Regions from separate parts of the Homo sapiens genome. Here regions 2, 3 and 4 are each linked to region 1. Evidence: promoter capture Hi-C in 16 types of primary human blood cells and fetal thymus (Javierre and others, 2016). All regions are on one chromosome and are shown on one strand. Each heading gives the region's core, a stretch centred on a gene start or on the middle of the fragment in contact. The rest is flanking DNA. Distances are from core to core; before and after follow the strand shown.

Region 1 (3,711 bases), core at 432-2,931:
TTTATAGAAGTGAGATTGGATATTTTTCATATGACTAACAGCCAGACTTAGTCCTTTGCTGTGAACTCTCCTTTTTCTATTGGGTGGTAGGGCTTTTTATTGTTGACTTCTGGAAGCTTTTGGAATATTAAAGAGATTAGCTTTGTCTATTACATGTGTTGGGACTATTTCTTCCTTGTTAATCATTTATCTTTTGACTTTGCTTATGGTGCTTTTTGCCGACCAAAGCTTTTCATAGTCATGACTTCTGGATTTCAAGTAATAATGTAGAAAAGCCTTCTTTACTCCAATACTAAAAAGGAATTTCCCCATGTTTTCTTCTTGTCCTTTTATCACATTTATATTTTATTTTTATTTTTTTTTTTGAGACGGAGTCTTCCTCTGTCGCCCAGGCTGGAGTGCAGTGGCCCGATCTCGGCTCACTGCAACCTCCGCCTCCCGGGTTCAAGAGATTCTCCTGCCTCAGCCTCCAGAGCAGCTAAGGTTACAGATGTGCGCCACCACGCGCAGCTAATTTTTGTATTTTTAGTAGAGACGCGGTTTCACTATGTTGGCCAGGCTGGTCTTGAACTCCTGACCTCGTGATCTGCCCGCCTCGGCCTCCTATAAGTGCCGGGATTAAAGGCGTGAGACACCGCGCCCATCTGTTTTTATTTCATAAACGACTGAAAAAAGACCAGAGCCAGGCCTCCTCCCTTCCATCACTAATCTTTATTGCAATAACTCCCTCCTTTGTCGTCCTGTACCTAGCTCAGACCAGACGACACCCCAAACACAAACACCAAGACACGCACCTCTTTAATACGAAATAATAAACATACCTCCCCCAGAGAGACACCCTGAACTAACCAAATCATTGTAACTATACACTAAGCCTTACATAAAAATACTAACATTTGGCCGGGTGCGGTGGCTCACACTTGTAATCCCAGCACTTTGGGAGGCCAACGTGGGTGGATCACCTGAGGTCACGGGTTCGAGACTAGCCTGACCAACATGGTGAAACCCCCGTCTCTACTAACACAAAAATTAGCCAGGTGTGGTGGCGGGCGCCTGGAATCTCAATTACTCAGGAGGCTGAGGCAGGAGAATCGCTTGAACCCGGGAAGCGGAGGTTGCAGTGAGCCAAGATCGCGCCATTGTACTCCAGCCTGGGTGACAAGAGCGAAACTCCGTCTCAAAAAAAAACCAAAAAACCCCCTAACATTCTAGTACACTTCCCTGAACTCTTGTCTATAGAAATGATCCCGCACTTCTACACTTGAAACGCTGACTTGCATTCTCTAAAATCTGCACTCCTGAGCGGGCGCCCGCAGCCTCCGCACTGGCAAAGAATCTGTGAGCTGAGCTCCGCCCCGCTCCGACCCCGTAGTGGCGGTCACCCGGGGTGTGCTCGACTCCCGGGTGCGGCCTGAGGATCCGCGCCCTGGCGTCTGGGCACACACAAAGGTTTCTGCGGCGCGGGACTATCTCAAAATATAAATTAAATACTTTTTTCACAGACAGTTAATAAAAAAACTACAGCTACACCCGGCCCTTTCGCCAACTGGGACCGGCCCACTCCGCGCTCGCGCTCGCGCTCGTCCATCCGGGCGTCTCGAGGGCGCCGGCGGGAGCGAGCACGCTGCGCAGTCACGTGCCCGGCGCGCCCCCGTCGCGGCGCGCTCAGGCGGAAGTGAGGTCGGCGGCTCCGGTGGCTGCGCAGCGTCGGCGGGGAGCGCGGGCTGCGGAGAGGCGGGCCGGGCCAAGCGGAGCCGAGCGAGCGGGAGCGCGGCGTCCGGGAGGCGGCGGAGACGCGGGGCTCGGAGGGTCAGCCTCTTATCGTAGCAGGTCTCCTCGGCACGCCCCCCTTGTTTCGCCCCACGGCCAAGCCCGCCGCGGGCCGGCGTGCGCTGGTCACTGAGGCCCAGGTCGCCGCCGCGGCGCGGTGAGTGGGGGCGGGCAGCGGGCGACTGCGCGTCCAGGCCGGAAGTGCGGCGCTTTGTGCGGCCGGCTCGGGGCGGCGCCAAGGTCGGCCCGCGGCTCGGGGTCGCTGGGCGTCTGGACCGGCCTGGGCTGCGCTTTGTGCCGCGGGCAAGGCCGGGCGGGGGCCGGGGGCGGAGCTCGGCCGGACACGTACGCGTGCAGGTGCGGTCCGGGCGGCGCGGGCCTGCCGCCTAGGTGGCCGAGGTGGCTTCGCGGCGCGGGGCGTTCTCCTAAAGGTCGGGGTCACAGCCGTCAGGAATGCGAGCGTGAAACCCGGGGGCAGAGCTTTGTGACAATAGTCATTTCCAATGTGTAACTGCTCACTTTGTCTACCCACGAAGTAAAGATAATTTTTATTTTTATTTTTTTGCTTGGCGGAATCTGAGCGTTCTCCTTCCAGCTTGAAAAGGCACGATTTAAATTACAGATTTTTAAGATTTCCTTCAGAAAGGACGTTTCGTGGCCTAGCCTGGGTTAACTTTGAAAAAAGAGTGCAGTGCGCCTTTACGACGTCCACAAATAAGGGTATTTCTGTTTTATAGTGTATGTGAACATGAAGTGTGCATCTCATGGGCTGTTTGAGTTAATGTTTAATCATTAAAGTCAAACAAGAATATTTTGCAGTGTTTTCGCATGCAAGGAAGCTTTATAAATAAAAAGGTTTATATAGTTTCCACTCCTTAAACTTTCAGGTCATCCTTGTGTAATTTGAGATCACTTTTCTCAAATACTATGGATGAAAGATTCTAGATTAAATAAAACTTTTTGGTTTTGGCAAAAACAGGACACATTTTTAAGCTCTTGTAGATGAAGGAGTGGGTTATTTTTGCTTTGACAGCCAAGATTTGAGCAGTGTAAGGCTATTCTAATTTTGAAGCTAGTGTTGCAGAAATTGTGAAGATCTTGCTTCTCTTTGTCTTTACAAAGCAGGCTTACTTTGGTGGAGTTCCGTAGTTTAAAGGGAAATTATACCCAAGTTGTCTTAGACAGTTTCTTTTCCTGGATCAATTGAGCACTTTTTTTTTTTTTTTTGAGACGGAGTCTCCCTCTGTTTCCCAGACTGGAGTGCAGTGGCGCCATCTCGGCTCACTGCAAGCTCCGCCTCCCGGATTCACGTCAGTCTTTTGCCTCAGCCTCCCAAGTAGCTGGGACTGCAGGCGCCCGCCACCACGCCTGGCTAATTTTTTTGTATTTGTTTTTTTTTTTTTTTAGTAGAGACGAGGTTTCACCGTGTTAGCCAGGATGGTCCCAATCTCCTGACCTCGTGATCCGCCCGCCTCGACCTTCCAAAGTGCTGGGATTACAGACGTGAGCCACCGCGCCTGGCCGAGCACAATTTTAAAAGAACAGTACACCAGCGTAATAGAGTAATAGTTTTTTCATGCCTTGTGTCCAGTCTGTTAAGTCTGTCTGATTGTACTGTGCAGAAATACATGAATTCCTCCCAGTAAAATGCAAACCCAAACCTTGGTAATGAAGGTAAAGTTTGGGGGAGAGAACTTCTTTTCTTTTTTCTTTTTTTTTTTTGTGAGACGGAGTGTCGCTCTGTCGCCCAGGCTGGAGTGCAATGGCGTGATCTCGGCTCACTGCAACCTCCGCCTCCCGGGCTCAAGGGATTCTCCTGTCTCAGCCTCCCGAGTAGCTGGGATTACAGGCACACACCACTGCGCCCAGCTAATTTTTTGTATTTTTAGTAGAGACGGGGTTTTACCATGTTGCCCAGTCTGGTCTTGAACTCCTGACCTC
Region 2 (3,711 bases), core at 628-3,127, 3.0 Mb after region 1:
AGAACTTTAGGAGGCCGAGGTGGGAGGATCACTTGAGCCCAGAAGTTTGAGACCAGCCTGGGCAACACAGTGAGACCTCATCTCCGTTGTATTAAAAAAATAATAATTAAATAATTTTAAAAGAAGAAAAAAAAAACAACCCATTAACATCAGCAGCAGTCACACAATTTTGAAACATTTCCTCTTCTGTAAGAACTTATATCTGGCCAGGCACAGTGGCTCATGCCTGTAATCCCAGCACTTTGGGAGGCTGAGGCGGGTGGATCACTTGAGGTCAAAAGTTCGAGACCAGCCTGGCCAACATGGGGAAACCCCATCTCTACTAAAAATACAAAAATTAGCCAGGCGTAGTGGCGAATGCCTGTAATCCCAGCTACTTGCAAGGCTGAGTCAGGAGAAATGATTGAACCTGGGAGATGGAGGTTGCAGTGAGCCCAGATCGTACCACTGCACTCCAGCCTGGAAACAAAGCAAGACTTCATCTCAAAAAATAAAAATTAAAAAAAAATAATAATAACCTATATCTGTCAATGTAAATTAATATTCAAGGTTTTAACTACTCACATATCAGCATCTCCAACTATTAATGTTTACACCCTATATAGCTTATACGAAGTTTAAAAAATGTGAAAGCACATCATAAAAACTGCAAATGAGGTTTTACAGGATAATCATTCATTTGATACCTTAACACTCAAGTTGTGGGTGGCTGGCAGGCATAATGGAAAACACTCTGGATGATACTAACTTAATGATAATGAACTTAACAGATAATAGCTCAGTTGTGTAGTTCATAACAAAAATAGTGAATCAGATTAGATGGTTATTAATACTGAATGATTTAAAATGAAATGTACTTCCACAAAATATTCACATAGCACTTTAATAAAGGATCACGATAGAACAAAAACAAGAGGGGAAAAAAACAAAGGTACCACTTATAGCCAAAGGTATACATTGCTTCAAAAATAATAATTTGTGTTGTGTTGGCTCTTCCTGACCACCATCATAACTCCAGTCATTAAAGACAACAATGTTTTCCATTAACTGCCATGCCACACATACTATAAAGAGACAATTTTTTCCTAATATTTTCCCAGACACCAAAGTCAAAGAAGCATTTGCTTCAATTTTACCGTCATGATCTGATGATCCAATATTTTGACTGGCTTCTACAAAATTCCAAAATTTCTCTTGACTGTCTTCTGCTAAAAACTCACTGGGAGAAAAGATCAGAAATAAAACAACTTAATAAAATTTTCTAATATAAACTATATTACTAAAGAGAGTAAAAATAAGTTTTGAAGTTTCCAAATGTCCATAGTTTGACTTTTAATCTATAATATATAATACTCTTTTATGTATAATATATATATTTTTAATGATAATCAAGTCCTATCTTATTAGTTATTAATAACTTAGCCTATGAATTTTTTCACTTAATAGCTATTTCTTAAGAAACCTGGAATAATAAAAACATAAAAGGGAAGTCTCAATATAAAGAAAGCTTATGAAACCCCATTGACAAAAATACTATGAGTAGTGGAAGAAGAATTAGGAACTGATGATTCTAGTACTAGTTCTGCTTACTTATTTTCTGAAAGGCCTTACAAAGAACAAAAAATATGTTTTGCCTAAAGTTCTCCCACAGTAAAATATGAACCGTAGAAAAATTTCTGAGAATAAAGGCAGCATGTTGTAATCTTTTAACACTCTTAAATCCAAATTTTCAAGATCACCAAACTTAGTTTAAAATTAGCACTGATCTAACAAAATCAGATCCAAGAACTTAATGCCATCTTAATTTTTTTCGACTTTATCCTACTAAAATAATGGCCAGTCTAAATTTCCCTTCATTCAAGAGTCTAAAACCCCTACGAGGAAATGCACGTAGTAATTGAATGATTCATGTCAATTGCTTATCTTCTCCTCTGAGCCATAATACTAATGCAGTGGTGATCTTTCACTGTCTTAAAGCAAACTACAGATCTGGATCTCAGCTTACCTAGCCAAAGGAAGACTTTCCCATTACTTGTGAACACTGGGGTGTACAATCTCACTCTACTCCACAGCTAGACACAGAAATATGGGAAAAATAAGAAACATTTCCTGGTAATGCACAGCTTCTCTAAAAATAGGTTTCTGAAAATACCCATTATCATAATATATTAAATTTCTCAATGCCTCCTTGAAAGTAGTATTTTTCTAGGCTTTCTAGTAACTGACATAGACACCACACCAAGCTTGGCATAGCTTATAGTCTAAGAAAACAAGTCCTAAGACAGATACATCAGGATGTGCAAATAAACACTAAATTAATTAATTAAAGGCACATTCACAAGATAAGCAGAGAGGGGCAAGGTGACACACTCACCAGTGTGGTGAGAACTAAGATTCAATCAGACTAAGACTCTCCCAGTAAAGGCCACACACGAATAAATACATGCTTTTCATACAATTACAGGGAAACTTCTTGAAACATACATTCTTTTCACCCCACTGCATACATAAGGTCTTACAAGGTCTAAACTTGGAACAGTCCTAATATTACTTACTAGATCCACTGAAACAACCCAGAGGAGAGAATAACAATACAAGATATTATTAAAGAAATGCTGCCTTTTTTTACAGCATATTTTTGTTGCTTTTTGTTTTTTTAGCTTCTTATATAATACTTATTCCACTGAGCATAAATTATGATTTTACAGGCCAGGCGCCGTGGCTCACGCCTGTAATCCCAGCACTTTGGGAGGCTGAGGTGGGTGGACCACCTGAGGTCAGGAGTTCCAGACCAGCCTGGCCAACATGGTGAAACCCCATCTCTACTAAAAATACAAAAAATTAGTCGAGGGTGGTGGCGGGCGCCTGTAGTCTCAGCTACTCAGGAGGCTGAGGCAGGAGAATCGCTTGAACCCAGGAGGTGGAGGTTGCAGTGAGCCAAGATCGTGCCATTGCACTCCAGCCTGGGCAACAAGAGTGAAACTCCATCCCAAAAAAAAAAAAAATTATGATTTTACAAACTATATGATGTCTGGGATTTGCTTTAAAATATTCTAGTGCGGGAGGAGAGAAGGGGGTGGTGATGGTGGTTATTGTACTTAAATTGATAATTGTTAAAACAGGATGATGGGTACAGAGAGAGTACATTATACCATTCTCTCCATATATAAATGTTTTGAAATGCCATAATCCAGGACAAGTTTTTAATCTACAACACAAAAAAAACTACAAACAACCAGAATGAATGCCCACAAGATAGTACAAATCAGGTGACAACTTGTTTTCTTAGATTTCCAAAGCTATTGCGGGAGATCAGCATTGGTCTTCCTTCTATGTGGAACTAGGAGGGAAGAAACTAATATTTAAGGAGGCTCTACGATGTTACAGTCACTAAGCTTGGCATATTTACTCGTGTCCGCAAACCCACACAGCCACCCTCAGATATAACCGTTTTTCAAATAAAGAAGCTGCCATTCAGAGATGCTACTGACTTTCTTAGGGACATAGAGTTAGTCAATGGAAAAGCTGGAATATAAATTCATGTCTATTTAATTTATACCTCTAACATGCTACATTCTTGGGTCATTACAAAATTTAGCACTCAGTAAATGATTATTGGTTTTGATTTTAATAATACCTCCTTATATAATATTTCTGTAGCTACAGCTGCAGAAAACATATTTAGTGTTTTACTTCAATTAAAGATAAATA
Region 3 (3,711 bases), core at 711-3,210, 3.0 Mb after region 1:
ACAAGAAGAAAAGTAGAGAGGGTAATCTTCCCTGCAAGTTCTGAGGAGGCCAACCTTGGCACTAACCCTACCACTATCTCTTTCCCGGCTGTGTGAGGGAAGGGAAAGAAATGAGAGGGAAAAAGTGGGCCAATGAAGAACCCTCTCTCTCTCTCTCTCTAAAGCAGTGCAAGAAGGAATAACAAGTAGGAGTTGGCAAACAACCATATTTAAGGGAATAAATTAAACTGCTGAATTTTAGGGATTAAGATATTAAAGAAAAACAGTAGCAATATGCTGTAATATACTGTAAAAAAAGAGCTATCTTAAAACTAGTAAAACAATATTGCTATGAAACTAAAACTGCCCTAAAAAATATAAAGTCTTAAAATAAAAACAAACACATCACTGAATGGTGTGAAGAGTATGAAAAGGAAACTTATTCAATCTGGAAAAGCTGATTAGAAAAAATAAAAATTAAAAAATTAAAAATGTTTTAAAATTAAAAACAAATTAAAAGACTAAAACAATAGTCTAAACCTTCGTGTTAAAAATGAGCATTTCCCCACACTCTGAGGGGGGCTGTAATGCTCCTGTTACATCCCACAGCCCCACAAGTGGTCAGTACACTACAAAGCCTTTCCAGTGTGAACAGGGAAGAGTATTTGGTGAAGGGTGGGGGAGGAAGCAGCTAGTAAAGGTGAGAAGTGACCATTCTACATGACAAAAAAAGAGGGACTAGGCAAGGGAGAAACAGAGTTCACAGCCAGACAATAAGTTTTACTTACCATATTATGTAAGTTTTTCCTGATCTGCCGAATAACACCAGGAAAGGTGGGTCGAAGCAACTCTTGTAAACTAGAAGGCCACGAATTATATCTGCTATCAACCTCCAGGTTGTTGACCCACTACAAAAAATAACACAACAGGATACATGCACATTAGGAACCAGTTAGTAAAACCTGCAATAATATCAATAAGACTTTAAAATATTTTAAGAAGAATCATGTGAGACAAGACCATTTTCAAAGATAAAAAGATTGGCTGCAGTGAGTGGCTCACATCTGTAATCCTAGCACTTTGGAAGGACAAGGCAGGAGGATCACTTGAGCCCAGGAGTTCAAGACCAGCCTGGGCAATATTATGAGACCCCCATCTCTGCAAAAAAATATAAAAATTAGCCAGGCATGGTGGCTGCTGTCCCAGCCACTCAGGAGGCTGAGGCGGGATGATCACCTGAGCCCAAGGGGTTCGAGGCTGCAATGAGCCATGATTGTGCCACTGCACTCCAGCCTGAACAACAGAGCAAGACCCTATCTCAAAAAAACAAACAAAAAAGATACAAAGATCGAGTGGAAAAATGAGTGACTAAAAGATAAGCCACAGAATAGATGAAGACATTTGTAACCTACAAACCCAATAAAGGACTAGCGTCAAGAATGAAGAAGACATAAAAATAAAAGAAAGAAGCGAAATTTTTTTTGTTTGTTTGTTTTTGTTTTTGAGATGAAGTCTCTCTATTGACGAGGCTGAAGTGCAGTGGAGCAATCTCGGCTCACTGAAACCTCTGCCTCCTGGGTTCAAACGATTCTCGTGCCTCAGCCCCCCGAGTAGCTGGAATTACAGGCACCCACCAACACGCCCAGTGAATTTTTGTACTTTTAGTAGAGGTGGGGTTTCGCCATGTTGGCCAGGCTGGTCTTGAACTCCTGACCTCAAGTGATCCGCCCACCTCGGCCTCCCAAAGTGCTGGGATTACAGGTGTGAGCCACAGCACCCAGCCCTAAACTTTTTAAGAACAAAGGAAAAAAGAAAATGTAAAAAAAAATCGGAAAAAAAAAAAGAATATGAAAAATAAACAGCGGAAACCCAAATGGGCAATAAACATAAGAAATGTGTACACCCTCAATTGTAATCTAGGAACTATGAGCTAAGACCTCAATGAAATTTCATACTCGCTAGACAGAAAAAGTGAAAGTTTGTCAAGACCAAGAATAGGAAAAGATATAGAGCAAAGAGAACTCTCATGCAATGCTGGTATGTGGACAAACACTTTAGAGAACTGGATCTAATAAAGTTGAAGACTATATTAGTACTAATTTTTCTAAAATAAATGCAGTACTGCCGGGTGTGGTGGCTCACGCCTGTAATCCCAGCACTTTGGGAGGCCAAAGTGGGCAGATCATGAGATCAAGAGATTGAGACCATCCTGGCCAACATGGTGAAAGCCCCATCTCTATTAAAAATACAAAAATTAGCTGGGCATGGTGGTGTGCGCCTGTAGTCCCAGCTACTCGGGAGGCTGAGGCAGGAGAATCGTTTGAACCTGGGAGGCGGAAGTTGCAGTGAGCTGAGATCACACCACTGCACTTCAGCCTGGCAAGAGAGCGAGACTGCAATGCAACACAACGCAATGCAACACAATGCAACACAACACAACACAATACAATACTCTAGTTCCAGATATCTACCCCAAATAAATTCACATGTATACACAAAAAGAGAGGAAAAAAGAGCCTAATTAAAGTAGTGTTTACAACAGCAAAACATCAGAAACAACTTCATGTCCACAAAGAGCAATTGTTCAGGAGGCTGAGGCAGGAGGACCTCTCAAACACAGGAGTTTAAGGCTGTGGTGAGCTATGATTGCATTCCTGCATTCCAGCAGGGTTTCACCATGTTGGCCAGGCAGGTCTCCAACTCCTGAGCTAAAGTGATCCGCCCACCACGGCCTCCCAAAGTGCTGGGATTACTGGCGTGAGCCACCGCGCCTGACTGGATTATCCCAATTTTTTTTTTTTTTTTTTTTTTTTTTGAGACAAGAGTCTCACTCTGTCGCCCAGGCTGGAGTACAGTGGCTTGATCTCGGCTCACTGCAACCTCTGCCTCCCGAATTCAAGCAATTCTCCTGCCTCAGCCTCCCAAGGAGCTGGGATTACAGGTGTGTACCACCACGCCCAGCTAATTTTTGTATTTTTAGTAGAGATGGGGTTTCACCATGTTGCCCAGGCTGGTCGCGAACTCCTCACCTCAAATGATCCACCCACCTCGGCCTCCCAAAGTGCTGGGATTACAGGCGTGAGCCACTGTGCCTGGCCTCAAATTTTTAGAATATTAAATAGGAGTCAGGTAAGGTGGTGCATGCCTATGGTTCCAGCTATTCAGGAAGCTGAAGCAAGAGGATTGCTTGACCGCAGGAATTTGAGTCCAGCCTGGGCAACATAGTGAGACTCATCTCTAAAAAAACAAAAGAAAGAAAGAAAAATATATTTGATAGAAAATAAAAGGATAAAATAAGGGACAAGGGAATGCACACCAACTTGAGAAAAGATATGAACTTCAGGAAGGAGAGGGGTGGTTGGTAAGGGACAAAGAAGGGCTTCAACTAAAACTGTTTCTTCCCCCAAGAAAACAGTTAAATCTGACACAAAATGATTAAATGTTAACATTTAGTAAGCATGATGATGGGTCCTATGGTTGTTAGTCCCTTTATGTTTGCATAAACATGTCATGTTGATGTTATTATCTTTTACTCTTTATAAGTACTTTTAACAGAAAAGCAAATGACATTAACAATGTCTTCATCAAAATAAGTTATATCACCAAGTATGAATTCAAGTAATGATTATCTACATTCTACATTATTTCTCTTAAATAAAATTTTTCTAAAATGAATGCAGTACAGAAACCAAGAAAAAATAAGATCAGCTCTCCACTCACCTTATTTTTTAC
Region 4 (3,711 bases), core at 870-3,369, 2.9 Mb after region 1:
AATACAAAGTGAAGCCCAAAGCAAATACTTGTAGTTATTTACTTATCAATTCCTCAAGGACAAAGTAAAATAAAATCGTAAAGTAGTTTTCATTAATTCTACCTGAATAAAAACAACAAAGGCTACTTTATGTGTCAAAGTCCATACTGACTGACTTTCTGAGAGCCACCACACTCTCACCGACAGCAGGAAGGCTCCATATGGGGATATTTGTCTATGTCAAAAAGCACAGCTCCTTGGAAATAGGAGGCAGAAACATCAATGGCACTTCATAAGCCCCAATCACCTTTGAAAAAAGAGTGGCTCTGTCTGAAGAGTTTACTAGCTTCAGAGGAGAATGCTGCAAAGACTGTTCACGGATCTAATGTGAAGTCAAGCTTGACAAATCCTCACCCTTCCATTGCTGATCACTGCCCTCTGTCCCTTCTTCAGCTTCAGAACATCCCTGCAGTACACGGCATGAGACAAAATGAAATCCATTTTGGAAGACTCAAAGACCTCTTTAAAAAGACTGAAATCCATTCCCTAGGAAAGTAATCATTATTAAGGAAAAATAGTCGTTACTAAGCAAACCATATAAACAAATAAACACAGTGAATAAACCATAAAAATTTCTTTCCCTGGAAAGTAATAACTAATTTTCATAATTAACATTAAGATGTGTCAATTCTCCAGTCTCCCCGCCATCTCCCTACTACTTAGAGTAACTGCTATTTCCTTATCTTTTCCTGTGATTTGTTCGACTAGCAGACTATTCATCATTCCTTTACTCTGCATTTTTAAATCCTGCTAATTTCCAGTGACAGCCTGTTTTCCTAACTCAAACGTCAAATAGTATATACTCATCATTCTGTAAAAAATTTAAAAACTACAAAACTGTGTCAAAAAAATAAGTAACATAAAATATAAATGAATAAACACAGGCTTATTCTGGAAACACATCAAGAACATATAAGCCTTGAACCTATAAGTGGTTCAAATCTCCGTTTTTTGCTCTATAAATAAGCCATATTGTCTCTCTTAAAAACTGTGCATAACAAATGGCTCCATACTTAAAACACACAAAAACTCAAATCATGCACCACATGAAAGCTAGGCAAGGTTAAAAGTAATAAAGGGAAACTTCCAAATTAAAAAAAAAAATTCCCTGAGACTCAGGACTAAAATGACAAATCGTGATCATGAACCGGACACGTAAGCTGCAGTGGGTGAGCTTCCGTGGCAGACAAAATGGGGCAGCCTCATGAGAGGCTCAGAGCCTTACCCCAACAGAGAACTCCGCAATGTCAGCTCCTGCAGCCAGGGCCTCTGCAGCCCCCTCCTTGGCCATTTTGGTGATGAAGTTCTTAGCAGCGTTGGAAGTCTGAGTTTGGAGAGCTGCCCAGATTGCTCTGGAGATCTGAGTGTTCTCATAGCTTATCTCTTTGGCAGGATTATTGATCATGCTTATTCTAACATTGTTACTGGATTTCTGTTCACAAAATGGGAAACGGGAGTCATATTGTAGATATTTTTGAACTTAAAAAGCAGCATTAACATCAGTCATGTTCAATAAGTAGCAAATAATATCTCTCTTAAAAGTCTCAGGCCGGGCGCAGTGGCTCATGCCTGTAATCCCAGCACTTTGGAAAGCCAAAGCGGGCGGACCACGAGATCAGGAGTTCGAGACCAGCCTGGCCAACAGAGTGAAACTCTGTCTCTACTAAAAATACAAAAGATTAGCCAGGCATGGTGGTGGGCGCCTGTAATTCCAGCTACTCGCAAGGCTGTGGCAGGAGAATCGCTTGAACTCGGGAGGTGGAGGTTGCACTGAGCCAAGATCACACCACTGCACTCCAGCCTGGATGACAGAGTAAGACTCCGTCTCATTAAAAAAAAAAAAAAAAAAAAAGTCTCAGATAGTTCTCCTCCTCATTCAAAATAAAATTAAAAATGCCATCATCAAGCATTCAAAACCCTACATGAAGTGGCCCCCAGCCCACCTTTCCAACTTCATTTCTTACCTTCCCGGTAAATATAGCATAAATTACAGACCCTCAGAGTCCTATCTTTACCCAACACAGTTTATATTCTTATGCCACACATTTTGTATTCTTCTAACGCACTTGTTTTAGAAGTGTTTTCAGTGCTCTCCTCAAACCCTTCTTCATTCATACAGCCTTCCCACATTCCTAGTACAATTCAATCTCTCCCTGGGTGAAAAGACAAGAATCCAAGTGGAAGAATACACCCAGGACACACAAAGCCAAAAAAGGGCTTGTACCAATAACATAAGCAACAGACATTTATATTTGGGTGTACCAAAAGACATACGAGAATATTCATTGCAGCAGTCTTATAATAGCACCAAGCTAAAAACCCAACTGTCCTTCAAATAGCTTAAACAAATAAAACTTTGTGGTACAGCCATATGATATAATACTACAGAATGAAAAAGGACTCTATACCCCTACTTGTAACATCATGAATAAATCTTACAAAAGATTGGGTAAAGAAACCAAACACAAATGAAATTGCATAACATTCCATTTTAATAAACTAAAAGATAGGCAAACCTATTCCCTAATATGAGAAGAGGGAAGAGGCGTAGTGTCTGGGCACAAGTGTGGGTGGGCACAAGTGTGGGAGGGCTTTCAGGAACTTGAGAATTCTCTATTTTTTGACCTGAGTGGTGGTCACAAGAGTGTGTTCTCTTTGTGACACTGTGTGTCCTATGATTTGAGCACTTCTTGTGAACCTACATTTTACTTCAATTAAAATAGTTATTAAAAAATGCAACTCTCCTTCCCCATTCTCCTACCCTACTACCATTTGAAGATTTACGCATTTGTGTTAGAGTGCCTTTCACATATAACTATCGCCCTTAGCTAGAACTGCCCTGTTCTAACTTCAAATTGACCACAGCATTTGGTCCACTCCTTGAACAATAAAGGAACTCGGCATATGAGTAAAACTGAAACCACCTGGATATTTCTTTATTTCAGTAAACCTTCCCAGGTACAGGGTGGAAAGGGGACCATGAGGAGGGTTGTGAGGTATGGATGAAGATGCAAACTGAAACAGCCCAGGAAAAAGAATTTTGACATCTCATCCTCTAACGATGACACTCTCCAGAAGAATCAGCTGCTTCCCAACCACCTGCCATTGCCACTCACTCAAGCCCAACTATTAATGGCAGCATATCTTTTCAGAACACCTATGTGTGTATCCCTCAGTGCATCTGGATCTACTTCTACTAAACACACACACTACCATTCCTGTGTGCTACTGCCCCCATGTCCAGACCTCTGTCGTGGTAAGGACCCCATCTCCCCGATACAGTACACAACACAATTGTTGGAGCAACTCTGCTCCAAGAACATGAACAGGTATGCAATAAAACTTGTCTATGATGAGGATCTCGCTATTTATTTTTTTCTCTATAAGAATCTATCCCGTTCAACAAAGCCTGGATACTGTAGTCTTAGATCTCTTTTCTTGAGAGCTGGCAGATCTCTAGAGATACAATTCTCCGTTCCCTCGAGCATTAAGAAAGCAGGACTCCCAACTCCCACTGAACAATCCTAGCCGCACAGCGAAGCCCATGAAGACAACTACAGCCACAAACAAAAATATAAAATGAAGTCATAGATACTTGCCTGATGTTTGATGGCATCATACAGTAACTGCCGTCCAGAAGGGCTATCAAAATCCCCAACAATCCAAAAAGTT

The links. The method cuts DNA at HindIII sites, captures the fragments that hold promoters and counts their contacts. A CHiCAGO score of 5 or more calls a contact.
Region 2: a fragment that was not itself captured here is called in contact with the fragment with the promoter of FAM168B in region 1 in 2 of 17 cell types (M1 macrophages and M0 macrophages); the score reaches 7.5 in M1 macrophages.
Region 3: a contact is called between a fragment that was not itself captured here and the fragment with the promoter of FAM168B in region 1, in 2 of 17 cell types (monocytes and total CD4 T cells). The highest score is 7.4, in monocytes.
Region 4: a fragment that was not itself captured here is called in contact with the fragment with the promoter of FAM168B in region 1 in 2 of 17 cell types (M2 macrophages and M0 macrophages); the score reaches 6.7 in M2 macrophages.

The regions. Positions count from the first base shown.
Region 1 is chr2:131,091,430-131,095,140 of GRCh38, reverse strand. It overlaps FAM168B (family with sequence similarity 168 member B), which reads left to right and starts at 1,681. Exons shown (of 7, transcript NM_001009993.4): 1 at 1,681-1,927. RefSeq lists a silencer at 1,508-2,227. The HindIII fragment of the contact is 2,381 bases long and covers 231-2,611 here.
Region 2 is chr2:128,101,440-128,105,150 of GRCh38, reverse strand. It overlaps UGGT1 (UDP-glucose glycoprotein glucosyltransferase 1), which reads right to left. Exons shown (of 41, transcript NM_020120.4): 3 at 1,137-1,219. Among named protein-coding and RNA genes, the nearest start is that of UGGT1, 12 kb to the right of the region's middle. The HindIII fragment of the contact is 736 bases long and covers 1,510-2,245 here.
Region 3 is chr2:128,130,317-128,134,027 of GRCh38, reverse strand. It overlaps UGGT1 (UDP-glucose glycoprotein glucosyltransferase 1), which reads right to left. Exons shown (of 41, transcript NM_020120.4): 14 at 768-887. Among named protein-coding and RNA genes, the nearest start is that of UGGT1, 41 kb to the right of the region's middle. The HindIII fragment of the contact is 6,166 bases long and covers 1-3,711 here.
Region 4 is chr2:128,157,274-128,160,984 of GRCh38, reverse strand. It overlaps UGGT1 (UDP-glucose glycoprotein glucosyltransferase 1), which reads right to left. Exons shown (of 41, transcript NM_020120.4): 22 at 3,639-3,711; 23 at 1,265-1,471; 24 at 394-525. Among named protein-coding and RNA genes, the nearest start is that of UGGT1, 68 kb to the right of the region's middle. The HindIII fragment of the contact is 3,480 bases long and covers 380-3,711 here.